Regions from separate parts of the Homo sapiens genome. Here regions 1 and 3 are each linked to region 2. The links are contacts of gene promoters, found by promoter capture Hi-C in human tissues and cell types (Jung and others, 2019). All regions are on one chromosome and are shown on one strand. Each heading gives the region's core, a stretch centred on a gene start or on the middle of the fragment in contact. The rest is flanking DNA. Distances are from core to core; before and after follow the strand shown.

What was found. Contacts are between HindIII fragments. The study calls those that stand out against the background at their distance.
Region 1: a contact is called between a fragment that was not itself captured here and the fragment with the promoter of AJAP1 in region 2, in 1 of the 25 tissues and cell types used here (dorsolateral prefrontal cortex).
Region 3: a contact is called between a fragment that was not itself captured here and the fragment with the promoter of AJAP1 in region 2, in 2 of the 25 tissues and cell types used here (dorsolateral prefrontal cortex and mesendoderm cells).

The regions. Positions count from the first base shown.
Region 1 is chr1:4,166,944-4,170,498 of GRCh38, forward strand. No RefSeq gene overlaps it. Among named protein-coding and RNA genes, the nearest start is that of LINC02780, 190 kb to the left of the region's middle. The HindIII fragment of the contact is 3,094 bases long and covers 627-3,555 here.
Region 2 is chr1:4,652,956-4,656,759 of GRCh38, forward strand. It overlaps AJAP1 (adherens junctions associated protein 1), which reads left to right and starts at 1,654. Exons shown (of 6, transcript NM_018836.4): 1 at 1,654-2,499. The coding sequence starts at 2,471. The HindIII fragment of the contact is 14,001 bases long and covers 1-3,804 here.
Region 3 is chr1:5,149,381-5,153,220 of GRCh38, forward strand. No RefSeq gene overlaps it. Among named protein-coding and RNA genes, the nearest start is that of LINC02782, 53 kb to the left of the region's middle. The HindIII fragment of the contact is 3,193 bases long and covers 475-3,667 here.

The sequences.
Region 1 (3,555 bases), core at 924-3,423, 490 kb before region 2:
CAACCGCACCGAGTATGCTGAGCCTGGTGGCATTCAAGGAGCTGCTGGTGTTAAGATGCTCTCTGTGGGGCTTGAGGTCGTGATTCATAAAGAGGGGTGGACAAGAGGGTGGAGACTGGAGATGACAGTGTTTCCCACCCTGAGATGCAGGAGCCATCCTTGGCAGGGCTCAGGGCCTGGAGTTGTCTGCTGGATGGTGGTCTGTGTCCCGTACTCATTTGGAAGAAGCACTCTGCTGCGTCCTCAGTCTCCCGCCAGCGGCTTTGTGATCGCTCTTCTGAAGATCTCCTTGTCCATCATTTTCTCAGTGCGCAACACCCCAATTCTGCAAACCAGAGACCTGCCAGGATTGTTGAGTGCCCCGGCCACCCCGGCTCTGCCCTTGAGGTCAGAAAAGTTTGAGGCCTCTCGGTTTGGGATCCAGTCCCGCTGCCTGCTGGCTGTGTGGATGTGAGCACGTCGCGTTCTGGAACCTCATTGTCTCACCCTTGTCAAACCATGGGCAGTGCCATTTACTGTGCAGGCTTCAGAGGATTAACTGAGGCAGTAACTGTCACATGAATGTTAGCTGTTGTTATTCTTCTTATTATGATGTTTTTATAAATACACAATTACCCAAAGGCTCTGTGAGCTCATTTTCGGTCCTAAGAAAATCTGACATCAAAGAGCCTGCTAGTGGCAGATGCCAGGAGACATGGCAGACGACAGCCTGCCACTGCAGAAGAAAACAAAACGGCTTCACGGCAGCTCCCAACGGTGCTCTCTGTAACCACACAAGTGCATGTGCACAAAGTTCTTTACTCATCTAAGAAGAAGTCAATTACTTTCCAGGATTAGGGAGGCATGGAAGCGGACCATCTATATGAGAATGGTTTCCATCCACATGGGTCAGATACAGTCTGGCGACTGGAGGGCACGGTGGGTGATTCTCTCACGTGGCAGGTGCACGCCCGTTGCCTTTGCAATGGGCTTCTGCATGTGTACTTTAACCTACTAGCTCTGTGACCCTGGGCAACATGCTTAACCTCTTTGAGCCTGTATTAGTCAGGGTTCTCTGGAAGGACAGGACTAATAGGATAGACGTATATGTGAAGGGGAGTTTATTAGGAGAATTGACTCACACGATCACGAGGTGAAGTCCCACAATAGGCCATCTGCAAGCTGAGGAGCCAGGAAACCAGTCTGAGTCCCAAAACCTTGAAAGTAGGGAAGCCCAGGAGCCCCTGGCAAACCACTGGTATAAGTCCAAGAGTCCAAAAGCTGAAGAACTTGGAGTTCAGTATTCGAGGACAGGAAGCATCCAGCACAAGAGAAAGAGGGAGGCCAGAAAACTCAGCCAGTCTATTCCTTCCACATTCTTCTGCCTGCTTTTATTCTAGCTTCGCTGGCAGGTGATTAGATGGTGCCAACCCAGACTGAGGGTGGGTCAGCCTCTGCCAGTCCACTGACTCAAATGTTAAGCTCCTTTGGCGATACCCTCACAGACACACCCAGGAACAATACTTTGCATCCTTCAAATCAATCAAGTAGACACTCAATATTAGTCATCAGAGTCTGTTTCTTCAACAGCAATATTGAGATGATAATAGCCCTCTATGACTTTCTTAGGTTGTCATAGTCAAGTACCACAAGCTGGATGGCTTAAAAATCACAGGAATTTATTATCTCACCTGCCCAGGAGGCCAGAACTCAGAAATCAAGGTGTGGGCAGGGCCATGCTCACTAAGAAGCCTCTGGGGGAGGGTCCTTCCTTGCTTCTTCCAGATTCTGGTGGCTCCTGGAATCCCTCGGCTTGTGGTAGCATCACTCCAATTACTGGCTCTGTGGTCACATGGCCAACTCCCCCTTGTGTGTCTGTCTCCTCTTCTTAGAAGGACACTAGTCATATTGGATAAGAACCTACCTGAAGACCTTCTCCTAACTCAGTTGCATCTGCAAAGACCCTAGCTCCAAATCAGGTCACACTGAAAGGTATGGGGGGGTTAGGGCTTTAACATACCTTTCTGGAGGGACACAATTCAACTTGTAACAGGTCTCCACCTCCTGGGGCTGCTGGGATGATTGGTCAGGTGGCGTGTGCTAAGCATATGTGGCCCCTGTTAGGTTCCTAGGTGGTCATAATTAAGTATCTTGAGCTGGGCAGCTTAAAAATCACAGGAATGTATTCTCTCATACATATTCTCTCATACACTGTTCATATGTGGCCATAGGAACTGCTCAACACATTTCAGCCATTGAAGCAATTATTCATTCTTCTTACCTGTCTACATTGTCAAGGAAGTTCTGCAGATACAGAAAATGAAGAAGACTTTGCCAAGACGAAGAATGGGGAAATGCTGCTGAACAGTGGGTCACCTGAGCTCTTTGCAGTCCAACACCAACCATTCCATGCTTCTTCTGCACACAGAACCAGATCCGTGCCTTCTTTATGATTCCTGCTAGTGTCACATGAACTCCACCCAAAATCAGAGAAGCAAGACCCCTACATCGCTTATACCCTGCTCACTTAACACAATGATTGAATCACCAGCTATATGAGTGCAGTGTTACGTGGAGAAAAATACATAATTACTTAGACACAGTCGTTGTCTTCAAGGAGCACAGGTCTGTCTACCTCCCACAAGACATATGGCCGTGTGAGGAGAGCCTGCTAGAGAGAGAAGCAGGTTCTGCAGATCTCAGAGGGGTCACGTCTGCCCAGCTGGAGGCTGGGTCCCATGAAGAAGGCAAAAGAAATACACACCATCCTTAAGGAGCTTTGACTCATTCATTCCACATTTATTTATTTTCATTTATTTCTTTTTTGAGATAGAGTCTTACTCTGTCACCCAGGCTGGAGTGCAGTGGCATGATTTTGACTCACTGCAACCTCTGCCTCCCGGGTTCAAGTGATTCTCCTGCCTCAGCCTCCTGAGTAGCTGGGATTACAGGTGTGTACCACCATGCCTGGCTAATTTTTGTATTTTTTAGTAGAAATGGGATTTCACCATGTTGGCTAGGTGGGTCTTGAACTCCTGACCTCAAGTGATCCACCCACCTCGGCCTCCCGAAGTGCTGGGATTATAGGCATGAACCACCGCACCAGGCCCCTTCCATATTTATGAAGCCACCACTTAGGCCAGTCCCGGGGCATACAGTGACAAATCTTGAACTAACAGGAGCGATGAGAACAGGGGGAGATGAAACAGCAGAGAGCTCGATGCAGGCACTGGAAGAGACTGGTGCTCCCAGCTGAGCTGGGCCAGGTCAGGGCCAGGGGAGGCCATGCTCTCTCTCTTGGTCTGGAAGCCCATGCCCCGGCCCTTCTCCCCAACAGTGGCCCCTCTTCTGGCCAACAGGTGCCAGCAGGCAGTGTGACCCTGTTTTTGTCTCACCTTCAGGTTTGCCCAGAAACATCCCCAGGCTTCCAAGCTTGCTTCACTAAGTTAAACATCTTTATTCTGCCTCCTTTTGCAGCCATTCATTTTAATCATGCAAAGGTCAGCTGTCACCGCACAAATGTTAGACTTAATTTGTTTTCTTGATGCACGTGGTATCCGTGATAATGTGGCCCAA
Region 2 (3,804 bases), core at 404-2,903:
TCACAGATCACCATAGCCACAGTGTGTGTAAGGCCTTCTCATGGAGCCCTGCAAACACCTCCCCGGGGAGGGGCTGTGGGACCCATCTTACAGATGAGGAGACCGAGGGTCGGAGAGGCCACACAACTCGGCCAGGACCCCGAGTTAGCAAGCGCTGGCCCCTGGTCCAGCCACGGCAAGGCTGGCCCTCCTGCCACCACACTTCCCTGCCTCTGGCCCTCTGCCGGGAGTCTTGGTGGGGAAGTCACTGTCTTCATCCTCCTGCCCGGGCAGAGTCCAATCCTGTGCCTGGCTCCTCAAGACCGTTGGCAAAGATCCTGGAGGCCTGGGGGTGAAAGGGCTGCTTGGGGGACTTAAGCCCCAAGCTATGGTTCGCCTGGGAGACTGAGCCCCAAGCCATGGTCCTCCTGGCTCTGCCCTTCCACCCCCTCACTGGCTGCCCCTCCCAGGGAGGCCTCACCTGTGAAGTGCTTCCCGCCCCTCTCACCCCCCACGGCTCTCACATGGCCTGGGGCGATTCCAGAGCTGGCCTGGGTCAAGCACCTGCACAGAGCACAGAGCGAAGGCTCGGCATGGTATATCCCCCGCCCCTTGCACCTTTCCCCAGTGAAGGGTGGCACCAGTGTCCTTTCCAAGGCCCGGATTCTGCACTGCCCTCAGCCTGTGGAGGATTAAAAGCAGGGTTTTGCCGTGGTTTCTCAAGGCGTCAGCGGGTCTGCAGAGGATTCCGCCCCATGTCACTTCTCTCAGTGAAAGGTCCCCGCCCAGCGTCTGTCCTCCTTTAAGTGCCCCCCATTTGTTTTTTGTTGTTGTTTTTGTTTGTTTTTTGCAAATACAGACTAACCAGGTAGGCACAGAGGAGTCCTGGCATGGGAAGGGAGCAGTGAAACGCCGGTGGAGAGTCCGGGAGGCCCAGATTCCCTGGAACTTTCCAGTGACTCCTCCGGAGCAAGGGCCTGGCCAGGCAGCAGCTGCGCTGGGCGATGAGGGACCGTTGGGTAATTGGGGGCATAGGACCGGGCTTCGCTGGGTTCGGGGCAGAAGCGCCGAAGCTCCGACCCGGAACGCGGTGACTTCATCAACGCAGAAGCCCGCGCAGCCGAGCAGAGGAGTCCCTCGTAGGCGACCCTCGGACAGACGCTCCTGCGCGGCCCGCGTGGCTCAGCTCCGCCCCAGGAAACTTTTCGCGCAGCCCCCGCTCCATGCGCCCCCACCCAGTCCTTCTTCGGGGCCGCCCCCTCCCCAAAGTAGCTCTCCGGGTCCACTGGGCGCCCCCGTAACCGGGTCGGAACCTCGAACGGCTTCGCGTGCCATCCGGTTACCCTGGCAACACCATCCGGCGGCGCCCGGCGGTCCAATCCTAGCCTGCGGCCTCTCTCGAGCCTTTCGCAAGGTGGGGACCGGGACGCGACCGGGGATGGGGAAGGGGGCTGCAGGAGGCCCCGCCTGCGCTGTCGCCCCTGCTGGGCACAGCGCCCCCCACCACCCGCGGCGACCCCGGCCCCCGCAAGGTGGGGCGGCGAGCAGGAGCCGGGGCCAGGCCAGGGGCTCGAGCTCCCGTTCGAGGGGCGGGGAAGGCGGGTGACGTGAGCCGGGCCGGGCGGGCGGAGTTGGGACCGGCTCCGGGAGGCGGGGGCGAGCGCGCGGAGAGGCAGACGCGAGGAGGGAGGCGGCTGAGCAGCGCGGGCGGCTCTGCGGCGGGCGCGGTGGGCGCGGGCGGCGGGGCCCCGGGATCCCCGCGCGCCTCCTCCGCGCGGCGCCGCCGCCGCGCGTCCCCACGCCCCGCGCTCCACGGCGCCCTCGCCCCGCGCGCCTCTCGTGCCCGCCTCCTGCCAGTCTCCGGGCCGCGGCCGTCTGCAGAGCGAGCGCTCAGACGGAGCCCCCGGGCAACTTGAGTGGCGCCGATCGGCGGCGGAGCCTCTGGCAGAGCCCCCCGACCCGGCAGCGCGGAGGGGACTCGCGTCCGTCCGCGTCGCGTCACCCCAAACCCTAAGCAGCGCCGCCCCATCGGCGCGGAGCTCCGGCTGGAGGCAAGAGCCGCGCGCCGGGAGACACGCACCGTGAGCGGCAGCGCCGCCGGCCTCCCTCCTCGCCGCCCCGGAGGGCGAAGCCGCGGCTCCCCAGCCCTTTGCTGCGCCGCGACAGCGCCGGAACACGCCCCGCCTCGCTGCCGCCTTCGCTGTGCCGCCGGCGGAGGGGGCCGCGAGCCCCGCGCCCCGGCCGGAGGATGTGCGCCCCCGCGGGCCGCCCAGCCTGAGCCATGCGCCCCAACGGCGGCGGCGCGCCGGCCGGCATGGAGCCCCGCGCGGCCGCGCTCTGACTCGCTGTGCGCCCCGCGGCCGGCGGGCGGCGGGAGGCGGCGGACCGAGAGCCGGAGACCGGCGCCGCGGGACGGAAGCGAGCGGGCGCGGGCGCCGCGCAGATGGCCTGGGCGAGCCAGGTCTGAGGCCCCGCTCCCCGAAACGTGACCATGTGGATTCAACAGCTTTTAGGACTCAGGTGAGCGACCCGGCCGGCGCCGGGTGCGTGTGGGCGCGTGGGTGCCAGGCTGGGCGGAAGCGGCGCTTTCCTCTATGTTGCAAATCAAGGGACCCCTCTTCGCTTCCCGCAAGCGGGCAACGGGGTGCACCGGTAGCCGGAAAGGGGCGCCCGCCCGGAGCCTGGAGCAGCACCGCGGCCCTGGCGGGGAGCGGCCGGGTCTCCAGGGTTCCGCGCGTCCGGGGTCGGGGCAGCGGCGCCCGCCCCAGCAACCCGGGAAGTGGGGCCGGCCAGGCGCGCCCGCAGCTCTAGGAGCCAGCAGCGCAGTGTCCTGGCCGGCTGCCCCGGCGCGCCTCCTCCCCGGGGCCCGGGGCGAGGCGCCGGCCGCTGGGCGCGGCGGGCGCGGGGGCCGGGGCTGCCGGGGAAAGCTAAAGCTCCGGGCTCCCAGCGAGAGCTTCGCAGGCGGAGTTGGAGGAAACCACAGCCAAACAGCCACTCCGCTCCCCCTTCTCCTTTCTCGGGGCCCCGGGGCTGAGCAGGGGCCTCCCAGGCTCCCAGCTGCCGACCCAGCTGTTTGCGGGTGACCTCCGGGCCCGACGGGCGCTCACAGCTGGCGGGCAGCTGGGGCGGGAGAGCTGGGGTTCTTGGGGAGCTCCGGCGGCCACCCCGCTGTAAACACACACGCACATACGCCCGCCGGCGCGCCCGGGGCTTGTCTGTGTCTGGGACTCCAGGGCCAGATGGAAGAGGGGGTTCGAGCCTAGAGCCCGTGGTGGGGGTGTCCAGAAAGACCCTTCTCGGCAAACTTTGCCAGCCCGCCGGGGTTCTCGGGCTTCTCTGGCTTCTGCCTGGGGTGGCCCAGGGCCCACCAGAGCACAGCTGTCGTTTTTGCTGGGCAGGCTGCCTCTGAGCCCTCGCCCTCCTGCCGGGGCATTCACCGAGCTCGTGCATTTGGGTCCCGGGTTGGAACCGCGAGCGGGGAGGACAGAGGTGGAGGCGGAGAGCAGCGTGCGGTTCTCGAGTTTGTCCACTGGGATGCACTGCGCTCCCGCGTTGGGGACGAAAAGGCCAGTAGTTGTTAGCCCGCTGCTTGAGCCGCCCCCACTCAGGGATGAAGCTGCGGGGGGAGTGAGGCGAAGGGAGGGAGGATCTAGTGCGTGTCCTGATTTTGAGAAATCGGAAGGGGACTGGGACGCCAAGTGTTTTCTAGCGACCCTTGATTTATGAGCCGATTCTGCTCCCAGAGGTGAATACTGTGTAACACATCTAGTGAACATTGTCAGATGTTATTATTAGCATCCCTTCTCTCAGTGGCCGATCTTGCTG
Region 3 (3,840 bases), core at 821-3,320, 500 kb after region 2:
GACTAGAAAGTTATGCCAGCCACTTGACTTTACTTGAATGCCATGGTTTCTTTATACAATCAAGTGACTGGTGCACATGATACCAATAAACTTCTGTCCTTGCATTGGAAGAGTTAGCAAACAAGAGGTGCAGCCCACTAGTGCCTGAATTAGGTCATAATGGCACACCACGGCACCAGTTGTACAATGGTTGGCCCATAGCAGATGCTCAATAATTCTTATTAGTTAGTCTCCTGCAGGTCAAGTCACACCCAAGGAACATACTATCCATGTGATTGCTAGAAGCCCAATTCAGAAGGATAAACCTACAATTTAATGAGGATTTCACGTTGACCTTGAAACACTGGCAGTATAAAGGAAGGTCTGAGTAGTTTTACAGGATCACAAAGATGAAGGGGGATACCAGAGTCAAGACCTATGACTGGGAGCCCAGAGGGGAGGTGAAATCATCTGCTCAAGTTTGAGACCTATTGAAAAAAGCACTATTATTTTCAAAGGGCACATTTCACGAAAGTTTGATACATCTAGGTGGGTTTGAAATGGGACTATGGATCCAAAGAGTCACAAGTAGCCCAGGGATGGCCATCACTGTTTCTCATCCCCCAAGAGATTAGGGGTTTTTTGTTTTCTCTTGCTTCTTCATTTTATGTAAAATTAAATAAGTCCTTTCTCTTTGAGCTCTGCAGTCTGATGCTTCTAGAAGTCCTTTCTCAGTCTTGCTGGCTCATGAGAACAGCTAGGAGGGGCCCCATTGAGAGACTGCAGTCTCCAAGGGAGGCTGGACAGAGAGAAGGGCCTTTCTGGGCCTGGCCTCACCATGTCCTTGCTGTGCAGCCTGATCAAGTGACTCCTCATTCTGTGTCAGTTCCTTCATTCCAACATGGATAAGAACACTCTGCAGTACCTAGTTATTGGAAGGGATAAATGTAATGACATGGCCAAGCAGCTTGCAGCACACAGGGCTGCTTTGTAAATGCTGGCGGCCATCATTACTCTTTGTGATCCTGGTTCAGCCAGAGGGAATTTGGCTGAGGCTACTGGACATGTGTTTCTGCAAAAGACAAGGTCCCGCCAAACAGCCAGTTCCTGCAGAGGCCCCTGAGCAGGAGAAAACCAAACCCCAAAACCACACAGCAGTCTTTCTTTCCTGCACCAAGGGAGCAAGAAGACCATGAGAGGACCTGAAAGGCCAAAGATACCAAGGGAAACTAAAGAGGTAGGGGTTGGGAGGAGACAATCCTGCAGAAACAGGAAGAAATTGCTTTACTCAATAAGCCAGAGATGCCGGCATGGCTCCGCTCAGAGCAGGTGCCTGTCCAGGCCCCCAGCTACCTCCTTCATTTCTGTTGCCCACTCACCACTCTCCTCATCCTCTCTCTGAGCACCCTCAATATTTATACTGTAAATGTGGAGGACATCAGTATTGTTTGAAATGTACAAGCCTCTTTCTCAAAATAATCTCAGGAGGTTTGAACTAGTAGGAAAGACATAAAAATAAGACAACTTGGAACAAAGATGTGGAAAAGTACTTTGAAATTGCCTAGGAATGCCTCTCAAAAGTCATTTCAGCACACATTAGGTACCCACGCTCTGCAAGCATTGCCATGATTCAGGATATCTGAGTGCTCCTTACATTCATGGCTAATGTTAACTGAGCTTTCACTATGTGTCCAGCATAGGACTGTGTGCCCTCTACACATCACTTGCTGAGTTCCTACAAGAGCCACAAGAGACAGGCATGATTGTTATTCTCATTTTGCAGAGGTGAACATGCAGGCTTAGTAGGGTTAAGTAATTTGCTCAAGGTCGCATAGCTCAGTAATGGCAGAACTGGGGCTCAAACCAGACAATGAGTTCAAGCCCAAGCCTGCAAATTCGGTGCTGTCCCATGGGTCTACTTAAGCAGAAAGTCTTTTTCCTTTCTGGATGTGCATCCCTTGGCATCTACCTCCTGCACTCGGGAGATACTCAATAGACATTCTTGGACTCAGTGAGGCCAGATGGGCTCTGAGCCCGAGGACTCTCATTGCTATGATGCCATCACCCACATCATGAGCTTTGCCTTTGCTGGGGTCCTGTGCTGGGAGATTCTGGAGGGGATGGCGGAGCCTGAACTGGGACCCCTCCTATTACAGATGCACTCTTAGAAACGTACCTCACACCGAGTCTGCAGGCTCACATCTCTGACAAAGTTGAGAACTTAAATTCTCATTAGGCAGAAGAGTCTGTTCCATGCTTATTTCATCTGGGTAAGAACGGCTGGAGTGAGCGCAATCAGGCGGAATCTGCTTGAGAGTCTTCAGAGGCGCTCGCTGGGGAGGCAGCTGCAGCCAGGATGGCTTCCTGCATTTCAGTTCTCTTCTTCAAGACCATCTGTTTTCCCACAAAGGCATGTTTCCTTACATCATTCTTTATATACCTCGTCTCCATCTCACACACACACACACTCACACATGCTCACACACACACAAACGCAGTGCTCTCCCAATGCAAAATCTATATGTGTAATCAACATTTTCATGAGACAAGTTCATAGAATAGAATCTGAGCTGAGAATCTCAACTTAGTCTGAAGAAATATTTAGATCCTGGGTAGCCTGAGCGTATGCAGGTGTGTGTGTGTACGTGTGTGCGCATACACACACACACACATCCTCCCACCCCTACCACATTCCTACATCTTTGCACAGAGTAATGAAGAGGATTTATTTGCTCTATTTATTGGGCCTGATAATCCCTTTCTAAAGAGAAGGATGAGGTGGTGCTGCTGCATCCCTTTCAGCCAGAAGGCAAAGCTTCAAGGACATTCCTGTCACCTCAAGTGCAATATCACTTAAACAAGCCCAAACCTACCAGCTAGGGGCTTCTTCTCACACACATTGGCATCCGCATTTCTGCTGTTGCCCATACACTGATGGAAAGCCCAGGTATCCTTGTGGAGTTCTGCCTTCTGGCCAACCCATAACTCAAGCCCAAGCTTCATCCTTCATGTTCCCACTGTCTACACCTTCTCTTAGGTCTCTCTTCCCATCCCCAGCCCTGTAATTCAAGTTTTCCTGGCTTAGGACCATCCCCTGTGTTATGGTTTGGCTCTGTGTTCCCACCCAAATATCACCTTGAATTGTAATAATCCCCATGTGTCAAGTGCGGGACCAGGTAGAGATAACCGAATCATGGAGGCAGTTCCCCCAGGCTCTTCTCATGACAGTGAGTGAGTTCTCCCAAGATCTGATGATTTTATAAGGGGCTTTCCCCTCCTTCACTCTGCACTTCTCTCTCCTGCCACCATGTTGGACCTGTTTGCTTCTCTTCTGCCATGATTATAAGTTTCCTAAGGCCTCTACAGCCATGTGGAACTGTGTGTCAATTGAGCCTGTTTCCTTTATAAATTACGCAGTCTTAGGCAGTTCTTTATAGCAGCATGAGAATAGACTAATACAGTAAATTGTTACCACAGAGAGTGGGATGCTGCTATAAAGATATTTGAAAATGTGGAAGTGACTTTGGCACTGGGTAACAGGCAGAGGTTGGAACAGTTTGGAGGGCTCAGAAGAAGACAGGAAAATGGGGAAAGTTTGGAACTTCCTAGACACTGTTGAATGCCTTTGACCAAAATGCTGACAGTGATTTGGACAATAAAGTCCAGGCCGAGGTTGTCTCAGATGGAGATGAGGACTTGTTGGGAACTGGAATAAAGGTGATTCTTGCTATGCTTTAGCAAAGAGACTGGCAGAATTTTGCCCCTGTCCTAGAGATCTGTGAAACTCTGAACTTGACAGAGATAATTTAGGGTCTCTGGCAGAATAAATTTCTAAGTGTCAAAGCCTTCAAGAGGAAGCAG